2 separate regions of the Homo sapiens genome follow, and region 2 is linked to region 1. The links are contacts of gene promoters, found by promoter capture Hi-C in human tissues and cell types (Jung and others, 2019). All regions are on one chromosome and are shown on one strand. The core of a region is centred on a gene start or on the middle of the fragment in contact, and the rest is flanking DNA. Distances in the headings are between cores, read along the strand shown. Region 1 holds the start of GRHL2 (grainyhead like transcription factor 2). Region 2 has its middle 8.6 kb from the start of MIR5680.

Region 1 (6,524 bases), core at 3,116-5,615:
TACCCCAGGTATCTTAGGGCTTGATCCCTCACTTCACTCAGGCCTCCACTCAAAGCTCACCTCATTGGAGAAGCTGTCCATGATCACCCTATACAAAAGACCTCCCCATTATTCTCAATCCCTCCAGCTGGTTTTGCTTTCCTTCATAGCACTTATCATCATCTAATTAAATATATGTTTACTTTTTTGTTGATTTAGTGTCAACAAGCCTGCCCCTTTTCCCCCACCCCCAACACACACACAGTAAGCACCATGCAGGCAGGGACTAAGTTCTATTCACCAGTGAATCTCAATGCCAAGTATATAGTGGCATTCAAGGCATATTCTTTCAAAAAGTGAATGGGTATATGTATTGGTTTGAAAAAGATATGATAAATTCTTGACGTTTCTAACCTTAAAAGAAATTTTGCATAGCCAAATGTAAACAAGCATATGCATTTATAAAACTAAAGACTAGAGAGTTTAATTAAAATGTAGAGTCATCCCATTACTTGAAATGTTATCCACATGAGAGACCTATAACTTCAGCCATTTTCTGAATAATAGCAGGACTCCTTAACAAAAAACACACAAAATGACTGAAATTATCATAAGCAAAAATGCGATGAGTAGGGAGAGGCAGTTTATCATGACCTGTATTTTTTTTTTTTTTTTTTGAGATGGAGTCTCGCACTGTCACCCAGGCTGGAGTGCAGTGGTGTGATCTCAGCTCACTGCAACCCCCGCCTCCCAGGTTCAAGGGATTCTCCTGCCTCAGCCTCCCAAGTAGCTGAGATTACAGGCACCTGCCACCACACCTGGCTAATTTTTTGTATATTTAGTAGAGACAGGGTTTCACTATGTTGATCAGGCTGGTCATGAACTCCTGACCTCGTGATCCACCTGCCTCGGCCTGCCAAAGTGCTGGGATTACAGGTGTGAGCCGCCGCGCCTGGCCCCTGTATTGTATTTTTAAAAACATTTTTGTAACTGTTGTATTTTTTGTGACTATTAAGCATTGTGTTTATTAGAAGTATGTCTGTCCATGAGTTGCTTTCCACTACAGTGTAAGCCCCCTGAGAACAGGGCTCATCTTATCCATCTTCGCATGCCTCTATTACGCCTATCTGAATGTGTTACAAATAGTAGGTAACCAGAAAATACACTTACCTAATGAAAAACACCTGTGAGTATCAAATCACATAGTACCTACACGTTCTCTAAATATATTTTATACATTTTGGCAGTAAAATAAGAGTTTCTTAATCTAGCATTGCTTCACTTGTACACATGCTTGCTGACAAAGATCTTAAATCTTCATAAAATTTAAGATGGAGTAGAGAATTTTAAAATATGTACAAAGACAAAATGTCCTAAAAATACTTTGTTTTAATTGGCGATAGCATCAACACTGCAGAACATCAAAAGCAGAACGTTTCAATCTGAAAAGTCCACACCATAAAAAAGACGATGCTACTTCAGTCCAGACTTGTTAACCAGAAATATCTTCCTGTGCAATCCCAAAGATTGCCTAAATCTCAATGGGATTATGAAAGAACATCCAGTGTGTGTTCGTTCATGTTATTTCCAGAAACTACAGGCAGGCCTCGTAAGGTGGATTTTCCATGAGGCTGATGAAGCCTCTCACTTGCTCAGGAAGGAAGCCCCACGCTGTACCCAGGGGCCCGTTTACTTACAGTCCCCACCCCATGTCACACACATAGTTGCATAAGCTTCAGACCCACCCCTGCCGGGGCTCCCTTAGAATATTAAGAAAACGAGGCTAGAATTCGCAAAAATGATCCAGAAGTCATGTATTGACTTAAAGCATTTTCAACAGCCCAATGAGAGAGAAACAAACCAGTTGAATTATCTCCTTGCACCATTGTAACGATTACTTTTCCCAGGATACAAAATTTCGTCTTGGAAACCACGACTAGATAAAAGCAACGTTCATTAAATGCAAGCATATGTAATCCCAGATACTTATCACCTGTAAAAACCAGGTGATGCGTGTGGTGAAACCAGATTGCGGGCGCTCAGTACTTATTTCTGATGGTAAACACATTGTTCTTATTGCTGCTAAGTATAACTGGTGAAAATAAAGACCGACCCGTTTTCATTCAGAATTCGAGTTCTGTTGTATCACAAAACTAAGCAAACTAAATGTTAATTGCGCGATTAATTAAATTAGATTTGCAATCATCTTTGACGCAGGCAAAGATCAAAACAAACCCCAAAAACTTGCTGTCGCCTCCGGATTTGGCTACTGAAAATTTCAAACTCGAGTCGTGTTTCCTTGAAGACTAGAGAGATATGGGGAGGAGCTGGGGGTGTTCTCAGACAACCACACACTCTCCTCTTCCTACCCTGCCTCTGACCCGCTCCCGTGTTGGTAACGCTAGTTCTTCCCCTCCGGTATGCTGTACTCGGTTAATTCCTCATCGGTGGCTAACGGGGTACAACTATCTGGCAGTTTTTTGCTTTTTAAGTATGACAGCGCATTTTCTTAGGTTCGCCTAACCTGCCAGCGGCTTTATGTTGAGGCTAGTCCTTCCCCTCCACCCCTGAACAGGTCCGCAGGGCCTTCCCACTCCTCCCTCGTGGTCCCTCAACTTGGGACGGGTCCCCGCCACTTCTCCATGACAGGCCCAGCGGCCCGCGGCCTTGGGGCACCGGCCCTCTCCGGCGAGACACCTTCAGGAAGGTCCCCTCGGGGTGGCCGCAACGCCACGGCAAAGTTACCGGGGAAAGCAAAAGGGCGGCCCCGCGCACTTCCAATAGGACGCAGCCAGTTCCCAGGCCCGGACGCGCCCGAGAGGAGGGGGAAGGGAGTGTCCCCGCCGAATCCCGAGAAAGGCCGCGGGACCCACCTCCGGCTCCCTCCCGCGCCCGCCCAGGCCCCACCTCCCCCGGCTCGCACAAAGCCTTCCGAGGGCGGGGGCCGGCCAGGGGGGAGGCCGTCAGGACGCGGCCGGACCGGGCCCAGTGACCCGCGGGCGGCTCCGGCCGCGCAGGCTGTGGCTCCCCGACGCGTCTGGAGTGCCTGTCCGGGACGGGAAGGACGCGAGCCCAGCGTTCCCGCCGCCCCGAGCCCTCGGCCTTGACGGCGAGAGCACCCCGAGAAGGCTCGGCGCGCCCCACGCAGTCCCGCCTGCCGCGTCCGAGGTGGCGGCCAACTGCGTGGAGGGCCGCGAGCTCGAGGGGCGTGCAGACGCCGTCGGGGGCGCGGGTGAATCGCTCAGTGGCAGGCGCCCCTTCGCGCCCCGCCGAGGCCCTAACTCGAGGCCTCACATGAGTTCCCCCAGTTCGCGAACCGTCCTTTCCCCCCGGGCACCTGAGGAAGGTGGCCAAACAATGCGGGGGCGGACCCGGGGGAGGGAGGCGGGGGAGGGGGGAGGAAGGCGGGATGTCGAGGGAGTGGGGGACGGCGCCGGCCGCCCCCGCGCCCCCCGGCCTCCCAGCGCCTCGCCTCCCATCGGGGCCACACGCGGGCGCGCACTCACGCCCACCCTCCTGCCCGGTGCGAGAAGATGGCCGTTTCTGCCTCATATAAAAGCTCTTTGTTGCGGTCACACAAAAGCGGCCAAGCCCCACTTTTCCAGTAGGCCCTTTGGACAAATCGAAGGAACTCAGCTGAACTTCCAAATGGCCCTAAACGCCAGATCGGTGGGAGCAGCTAAAACAGAGAGGGAAGAGCAGGCCTCCCGCGCCCATCTACCAAAACCTCTGGCAATATCCAAGTATTCATCCAGGAGCGGGAGCTGAGACCATTCCTAAGGGAAGAAGGAAAAGGAAAACCCACTTTTACTATCAAGGCCCAAAGGGGATATTAAATATTCACATTGTTGTAGGGTTTCTCCCCTTAATCAGGGTAGAAACATAATGCGGAAAAGTCTGGATCCACCAAAAAGAAAAAGAAAAAAGAAAGAAAAATACCAACAATAGCAACTTAAAAACAAAAACATAACAAACCAGTTGCCATCAGCCCAAAGTGGTAGTAGTAGCAGCAGCCGGCGCGTGTGATCCACTTACTTGTCCGACTCTTGTGACATGTTTGATCCAATGAACTTGCTCCGCTTTTCCTGGAGCCTCAGCCTCTGGTGAAACTGGACTTTCAAGTCTGTGCAGGTGAAGGTGTGTGAGAGCGCCCGAGATGGCAGAACAAGAGCTACAGGTAATTCTGCTTTTCCGTCCCCCCTCACCACTCTCGCTCGCTCGCCCGCTCGCGCCCTCACCTAGCCGGAAAGGTGGGATAAGGGGGGGCCCCTCACATGGGGCCCGAGCTCGGAGGCGGCCGGGCGGCGCGGAGTCCTCCTGGATCGTGGCAATGGGCAGACACAGAGCAGAAAGTGGCGGACTTGGGCGGCCACAGGTAACTTTCTCGCAAGGAGCTGAATTCTTTCACTAAAGGGTACAAGCCCGAGGGACGAGCTGCGCGATGATTGGCTGGGGAGCTCCCTCAGGTGAGCTGCCATTGGCAGAGGCGCGCTCAGGTAAGGCCCTTCTCCGAGTGCAGGTAACTCACTCCGAAGTTTACCCGAGTGGAGCGGCGGCATGCTTGCAGCTCGGCGGCAGCCTGTGAGAGCTGAGGGTCAGTTCTTCGAGTAGATCTCAAGCTGCGTTTTCCTCCTTCTCCAAAGCAGGGATGGGAAGGTGGAGGCTACTGGTTGAAGAGAAGAAAGGGGTTGGGGGAATGCAACACCTGCAAACACTAGGGATTGTGGGTCGAGCGGAAGAGCTAATGAGAGCCGAGCTCAGGTATCCCAAGTCAACCAGAATCAAATGCGCAGTACGCCACAAGGCATTTAATGCCCACAGTAACAGGGCTGTTTGACAGTGGCAGAAGAGGACGGGACTAAAGTTACTTTGTGCTGAGAGGGGGAAAGAAGCACAAAGTTTGGTCTGTTGCGTAATTGAATTTTTAACACTCTTATCCACAACAAACACTTTTTCGTGTCCTGCTGTGTAAAAGACATCAGATATATTACAGATTTTCAAACAGGTGAGCATCCTTTTACGAGCTGGGCAGGTGGGGAGTGGCGTGGTTTTGATGGAGTGAGGAGATTTGGTTGAATGAACGCTAAGATGGCCAGACGCACCTCTTCGATCTCAACTCTGCAGCCTGGGATTCCAGAGCTGCAAACAACCACTGAATTCGTTCTGTAAACCTGTTGTCATTTGACGTTTCCAGGCAGGCATCAACATTTACATTGTAATTCAATAGACGCTACTACTACAAAGGAGCTTTATTCTTCCAGCTTAATATGGTTGCTGCGGGAACACTGCAGGATGAAACTGACTTTTTTTGTGGTAATGTTTCTCCTGGTTGGGAACAACGCAAATTAGCAAAGGCGTAATTTATAACCGCTGCTACCAAAGAGTGAAGTATTTGTGGAAGTTCTGACTGGAATCTAGCTCGTACATATGGATTGTGGAAATAAAGGAGGACGTGGAAAGCTTGCCATATTTTATTTCAAGTTAATACTAAAGCTGCCAGACTTAATACAACTTTCTTTTAATCTTTATGGATCACATATTTTCTGAAAATTACATGATAAAACAAGGTTTGGTTTGTTCCATGTGTCCATTTTCAACAATAAATTTCAAAATTGTATTTTTAAAAAACAATATAAACACACACTTTAAAGAAATAATATATTTTAAGACAATGCAGGTACTATTTTAATATAATATTTTAAGATAATGCAATACCTATCATGTTCCTCTCCTTTTTAGAGGCAGCCATATTCTGCTTTTATCTGTCTCTTCTGTCATTTACCTCCCTATTTCTAAATAATTTGTACTGCCATCTCTTGATTTGCCAATAGATGTTGTGCTCTGACTACCTGTTGCTTCAGATTAGGATTTAGCTCTTTCATGCCAAGCAACTTCTCCTTCCAACACAGCACTTTCACAGTTTAGGAGCTAAGTAAGTGACTATGCCAATAGCAATGACAACACAGCCAATAGTGTACTATTCTTGTTTTCTTCCTTATAAAACCTTGTATCTATTTACTTAGTTTGTTATGCCCCATCCTGATATTTTTCTACAACTGATCTATCAAATGACTATCATGTTTATTTTCCAAATGATCAAACAATCAATTCCAATTTTGCCCTGAAAACAATTCCTCCAGAAATTCATTGTTCTACTGTTTCAGTGGAGATGAGTTGCTCTATGGATCCGCTTCTCAAGTGTCATCCTGGGACACTCTTTTTTTTTTTTTTTTTTTTTTTTTGACAGAGTCTCTCTCTGTTGCCCAGGCTAGTGTGCAACGGTGTGATCTCAGCTCACTACAACCTCTGCCTCCCGGGTTCAAGTGATTCTCCTGCCTCAGCCTCCCAAGTAGCTGGGATTACAGGCATGCACCACCAAGTCCAGCTAATTTTGTATTTTTAGTAGAGACGGGGTTTCTCCATGTTGGTCAGGCTGGTCTAGAACTCCCAACCTCAGGTGATCCACCTGCCTCAGCCTCCCAAAGTGCTGGGATTACAGGTGTGAGCCACCGTGCCCGGCCTGGGACACTCCTTAATCTGTAGTG
Region 2 (6,610 bases), core at 1,813-4,312, 620 kb before region 1:
CAGCGTTAGAAGCACGCAATAATTTGCTCAAGGTCACATGGTCAGTAAATAGTGGAGTTCTCATCTGAAATCCACAATTTATGCACTTAGTAGAATTACTTGTGAACAGAGTATTTAAAGTGAGTTTAGTGAGCTTAGTGTGAAGCTCTAGCCTCTCTATTCCTGCAAGTATAGCTATATAACTTCAAGAAATTTTAAGTTCTGACTGGCTAGAAGACATGAGAAAAATGACATAGACGTCTCTGCCTGGATTTTTACTCAACTATTTGACCAATATTCTTGAGCAGTTTCTACATGCTCAGCATTCTGTTAGGTTGTAGGGATACAGGCTGAATAAGATCTAGTCCCCTGTCTTTAGGAATTTATATTCTAATGTGAAAGTGCAAGACATAATTAGGGAAGGGATTGACTAGAATCTGGAGCAGGTAGGGGAATGTGCAGGAGGTAAGTTCCCTTCCTGGGGATGGTGGTCTTGCATTTTGTTTCCTGAGGCAGCCCCAGTACAGTGCTTTGTGCCATAGGCAAGCAATAAATATTTCTTGAATACAACCTTTTAAAAAACTGTGGTTAAATATACATAACATAAAATTGACCATTTTAACCATTCTTAAACGTACAGTTCAGTGGCTTTAAATACATTCACATTATTGTGCAACCATCACCACCATCCATCTCCAGAACTTCTTCATCCTGCCCAGCTGAAACTCTGTTTCCACTAAACACTAACTTCCTATCTCCTCCTCCCTTCCAACCTCTGGCAACCACTATTCTACTTTCTGTCTCTATGAATTGACTACTCTAGGTACCTCATATAAAAGGTATTTGTCTTTTTTGTGACTGGCCTATTTCACTTATAATAATGTCCCCAGAGATCATCCGTGTTGTAACATGGGCAGAATTTCTTTCCTTTTTAAGGTGGAATACTGTTCCATTGTATGTATGTACCACACTTTGTTTATCCATGCATCTGCTGATGGACGTTTGGGTTGCTTCCATCTTTTGGCTACTGTGAAAACACTGCTGTGAATATGGGTGTACAGTGATATGTTCAACTCCCTGTTTTCAGTTCTTCTGGGTATATACCCAGAAGTGGAAATGCTGAGTTATATGGCAATTCTGTGTTTAAGTTTTGGAGGAACATCCACTGTTTTCCACGGTGGTACCATTTAACATACCCACCAGCAATGCACAAGGATTCCATCAACACTTGTTATTTTCTGTTTTTTCTTTTAATATAATAGCCATGCTAGTAGGTGTGAAATGTTGAACACATTCTTGAAGGTAGGTTGGAATTGAATTGTGAGAAATAGTGGTAGAGTTTAAACTTCATTCTAGGGTCATGGGGAACCATTGGATATTTGTTGCCTGTGATAATGGCATGATCGGAAGGTTTGGACGTTAGAGAGGGGGTGGGGAGAAGAGGAAAGCAGCAGAGAAGTTATTTTAATTATTTAGATGAGAGAACATAATAGTTTTCCCCACATCTGTACAACTGAAAATATGTCTATCTCTAGTAAATGGTACTGAACTTGGGGAGGAAATGTAAATACGGCATCGAGAGATCTCATGGCCCAGGATTCCTCACAGAAGTAGACTACTGTTGCTAATAATAGCACTCATGCTAGCAAATGCCTAAAGGCGATTCAAGTATTGATTAATTCTGCTAAATCCTATGAAAGATTCCTCCTCCAGCATCCCATAAGGAGGCGGATGAACTGCTCAGAAGGCAGTAACTGAGGAAAGTTAATGAAGGGACTATTTACAAAGGTGCGGGTAAGATCAGGGAACCCACCAGAAGTGGCCAGCAGTGCATGCAAGCCTTCACTACCCAGCCCTGACAGCATGAGGTGAGAGAGCAGTTTCTGGAGTTGTTCAGGGGACAGGGCTGCTGGCTGGAGCTGTGGTTTTCAGTAGAGGAATATGACTACTGCCCATTGTGGCCTGGTGGGGAGGCATCCAGGTGGATAAAGGCCCCAGCCACTCTCTTCCACTCTCTGATCTGGTGCTGGTGCCTCCCAATTGGCCAAACTAGCCACAGCCAGACAGCAAGAAGGCCTGTTGATGTGGGACTATCTTGTAGTCCATAGTAGCCAACACAAAGTAGTGTTCTAATTATCCCCAATTTACAGGTAAGTGAACCGAGGCATTGAGAGGTTGAATGATTTACCAACATTGGGAGCTAGTGCAGGTTATGGAGCTGAAATCTGAAGACTGACAAATAATCAGAGATCATCAGCACATTTCTTCTGTATATGCAGCTGGATCTGGAAGGTTACGTTTTCCCCAACCTGTGTGTTTTGGTTCTTTGGAAATAATCTGATGTGTACAAACTTGGCTTGGCTGTCAATAGGTGGTGTGGGTGCCTGCTCAGATCCCCCACTTTTTACAAAAATAATGTACTTTGCAGGCATATTTCATACTTGATTCATTGTGTTTAGATAAAAAGAATATTTTCCATATACTTGATGGGAGTGACAACATGTCCTTGAATCACATTTGCTACACATGAAAAAGATGTAAGTTGCGTTTTTTTTTTTTTTGAGTTGAAAGTGCCAACGGAGTTGACAGTGTCACCTGGCTGTTTAAACATTAGTGAGACCTTGGGCTGCAATAAGAGAATACTGTTCAAAGGAAGGGAGAGGATCGTTCCCTCTGTGCTGCCCTGACTGGTACAAGTTAAGGGGATTTCTCATGAGCTGGCGGATGCCGAGGACAGTAGCTGGGACTCTCTGGCCTGGAATCGCTCTGTGGGACTTTTATATTCTTTTCTTCACATACATGAAAGCACTGTACTGAGGGAAAGGGATTAGACTCATCTGGGGCCAGAACTAGGCCTACTGTGAACACGGAATGGGCTGCTTTGGAAGGCTTCATATAGTCCCTGGCCGGAGATTGTGAAGCTGAGGCCACAGGTGAGAGATGGGGCTGTAAGCTTATATTTGTTTCCTGTGGCCGCTGAAACAAATGACCACAAAATGGTGGTTGAATGCAACAGATATTTATCCTCTCACGGCTCCGGAGGCTAGAAGTCTGAGGCCGAAATGCCGTGCTTCCTCCAGGGATTCTAGGGGCGACTTCATCCTTTGCCTCTTTTAGCTTCTGGTAGCTGCAGCATTCTTGGGCATGAGGTTGCATCACTAGAGCTGCGCTGCACGTCACATTGCTTCCTGCTCTTCTCTGTGTGTCTCTCCTCTGCGCATCTTTTATAAAGACATTTGTCACTGGATTTAGAACCCAGCTGCGTGATCCAGAATGATTTTATTTCAAGATCCTTTATGACATCTGCAAAGACCCTTTTTCCAAATAAGGTCATATTCACTGGTTCCGGGGGTTAAAGCTTGGTTATGGCCAGGCCCAGTGGCTCATGTCTGTAATCCCAGCACTTTGGGAGGTCGAGGCAGGAGGATTGCTTGAGCCCAGGAGTTCAAAAACAGCCTGGCCAACAAGGTGAGACCCCATCTCTACCAAAAAATAAATAAATAGATAAAAATAAGTAAAAGAAAAAAAATTAGGCCTCTTGGCATGCACCCGTGGTTCCAGCTACTCGGGAGGCTGAGGTAGGAGAATCTCTTGGGCCCGGGAGGTGGAGGCGGCAGTGAGCCATGTTGACCCCACTGCACTCCAGCCTGGGTGACAGAGCGATACCTTGTCTCAAAACAACAACACCACCACCCTACAAAAGAAACCCAAAAAAGTCTTGGACACTTGGACATACTTTTTTTGGGGGTCACCACCATTCAATCCATGACAGAGCTCAGTAGTTAGGATACACGGCAACTATGGATTCTCTGACTCTGTTACGGTGCCCCTAGATTTGATTTACTGTCTGGATTCTAGGTTCCTTGACACACAGTAGAGGTTTTTGTTTTTGTTTGTTTTTGTTTTTGTTTTTGTTTATTATACTTTAAGTTCTAGGGTACATGTGCACAACGTGCAGGTTTGTTACATATGTATACATGTGCCATGTTGCTGTGCTGCACCCATTAACTCATCATTTACATTAGGTATATCTCCTAATGCTATCCCTCCCGCCTCCCCCCACCCTACGACAGGCCCCGGTGTGTGATGTTCCCCTTCTGACACAGTAGAGGTTTTCTAAATGCTTTTGATTTGATCATTTGCAACTTTATTCTAACTTTAAACAACAAAATAAACAAACACTTAAAATCTACCGTCCTTTACTTCTGAAATAAAGGGGTGTGAAAGAGGCTGTCAGAAGCCAGTTTGATCCCTGTCTCAGCTAAACGTTTTCTGGGCTTTGCTTTGCTGGATGGCATTGAAGGAAATGAATGGGAAAAAGAGCTGCCACTGGTCCTGTTCAGGCTTCTCACCTGGGGCTTTCCCAGATGCTTTTAGAAATATAATTTCTCAGAGGAAGGCTAAGGATGCTGGAGTCTTTCAGGAAAGGGAAGCAGAAGCAGCAGAGACTCAAGTTTCTAAGCCCATGCTTCAGGAAGCATCCACTACAAATATTGTTTGTGAATGCCATTGACCCATCCGCACGTCTTTTATTTATGTATTTTCAACAGTGAGCCCCAAAGTAGGGCCTGTGTACATCGGGCACATAAGGCAAGGTAAAGAGTAGCTTTGGCAATGGCCTGGAGAATTCGATGACTGTAGTCCATCAAATGAGGTGTATCAGAAAAGTCCACTCCAGGGCATCAATTATTCTGTTTTATTGTCTGCATTGATCGCATTAACTGGGGAAGAGCCAAAATCCATTCAGTCTGTGCTATGGAGTAGCAGGTGTAATTAAGGTCAGTTTCTCTCTAGGGGGCAGCTAATTTTGGTTTCTCAGCTGCTTTACAGTTTGACTTTAAAAGAGAGGAAGGAAAGAAAAAAAGGTAAAGTGCCCCTTCATGTTACCATCTTACCTATCCTACTGTATCATTGTTACTCTGGTTAATATTAACTTTGGATCCTTTTGCTTTAACAGTGTATCGGAATACTGTGATACTTACAGAATTTAGTCTCACTACCTGAAGAAAAGGTTTGCCTTGCAGGGGACCAACTACACAGTTTGTGGGGCTCACAACAAAATGAAAGTGTGGGAACTTTGTTTAAAAAAATTAAGAATTTGAAGATGGTGCTAGTGGAGGATTAATGCCAGCATGGGGCCCTGCTGAGTATGGGGCCTGTGTGATGGCACAGGTCACATGCTCATGAAACTGGCCCTGGCTTTGTGCATATGCTGAGGATGGTGTCCTTTTACCTACCTGGCACCTTAACTCCCAAAGAGTGACCAGGCCAGTTTCCTCTGCCTTGGTTGGAGCACAGCTCTTCTGTAGGGCAAGGGCAGTAAGAGGCCTGGATATCTCCTGTTGGCCCTTCCACATCCCTGGCTCCCTTCTCCACCTGGCTCTGTGCCCCAAGAGGTGATCTTTACCACTGGCGTCAATGGCCATCTTTTCTTCTGACTTCTGGTATAATTTGGCCAGAAATCAGCAGGAGACGGGAGGGTGGGAGGAGAGTGAGGTAGGGTATTTATTCCCCTGTCCCTCCACTGGGTTGCAAGCTGCAGCTTGGTGTGTGTGTGCTAAAGACCACAGCGCCTGCAGCTATCCTCTCCATATCGCCACCCTCTTTGGGTTCCTTCAGCCACTTCCTCCCCTCATGCCTTCAGGCCTAGGGTGGTCATGGCTTCCTGCTATTACTAGCCTTAGAGTCCTGCATCATCCTTCATTGCTTTCCTGAACCCCTGTATGACTTTCTTCTCAATAGCCTCTTCAGTAGGACTCCTCTGTAGGATTCAAGAGCAGCCTCTTTAGTTTTCTGGTTGGGCTTTAACTGATTTGGTAACCCTTGGACAGAGTTTGGCCACAGCTTGCTCTGCTGCAGGGCAGAAAGAGAGAAGCTGATGGCTGTGATAACACGTGACTCTGCTGGGCCAGCTCCTGGTAGGGATGGGTGATCAGAAGGCAGTACCTCCACATCTACAGTGGTGGAGAACGTATGTTTGAGAGCTAGACATTTGAATTCTCTGGCCTGACTTTGGGGAAGTCATCTCATCCATAAAATGAGCGAATGACAGCCCTTCACTTACAGGGCTGTTTTGAGCATGAAGCGAGATCACGTGGGCATCATGCTTGTCATAGTGCCTGGCACACAGGAAGTGCTCGAGAAGCATTGCTGCTTTTAGCATTAGTTCTACGGAGTGACCCCCTTGAGGGGATACACTCGCTACTCTTCTCTGATCTGAACTAAGGCACTGACAGCCTAGACTACACCAATGATTATCAAGTTTTCACTGATTCACGGTTGTTTGGGGTGCTATTTCTGTCTTTTCAAGTAGATTGTTCTGAAATTGTTCTTATCTTACATACCTTTTAAAAAACTAATATAAGTGCCCAACCCAGTAGGTAGCACATCATAACTGGCCAAGAAATGTTTCTTGGCTAAATATAAGACGACTACATAATTTATTGTTCACATTGGGACATTTTTGAGAGTGAAAGGGGAGGACTTTCCAGTAATTACAGCAAAACAGCAGGCACAAATGGGGACTGTCCTAGGCAATCCAGGTAAAGAAACATAGTTATTCTACTTAAGTGGGACTTAAGGCAGTTTTCAAAATACATTTTTAAAATTTGCCGGCCTACCATATTTTGTA

The links. The method cuts DNA at HindIII sites, captures the fragments that hold promoters and counts their contacts. A contact is called where the count stands out against the background at its distance.
Region 2: a fragment that was not itself captured here is called in contact with the fragment with the promoter of GRHL2 in region 1 in 2 of the 25 tissues and cell types used here (heart right ventricle and lymphoblastoid cells).

The regions. Positions count from the first base shown.
Region 1 is chr8:101,490,280-101,496,803 of GRCh38, reverse strand. It overlaps GRHL2 (grainyhead like transcription factor 2), which reads right to left and starts at 4,365. Exons shown (of 16, transcript NM_024915.4): 1 at 4,015-4,365. The coding sequence starts at 4,034. It overlaps GRHL2-DT (GRHL2 divergent transcript), which reads left to right and starts at 4,099. Exons shown (of 2, transcript NR_186782.1): 1 at 4,099-4,354. RefSeq lists an enhancer at 3,819-4,347. The HindIII fragment of the contact is 12,677 bases long and covers 1-6,524 here.
Region 2 is chr8:102,113,544-102,120,153 of GRCh38, reverse strand. It overlaps a transcript of NCALD not described here. Among named protein-coding and RNA genes, the nearest start is that of MIR5680, 8.6 kb to the left of the region's middle. The HindIII fragment of the contact is 4,908 bases long and covers 609-5,516 here.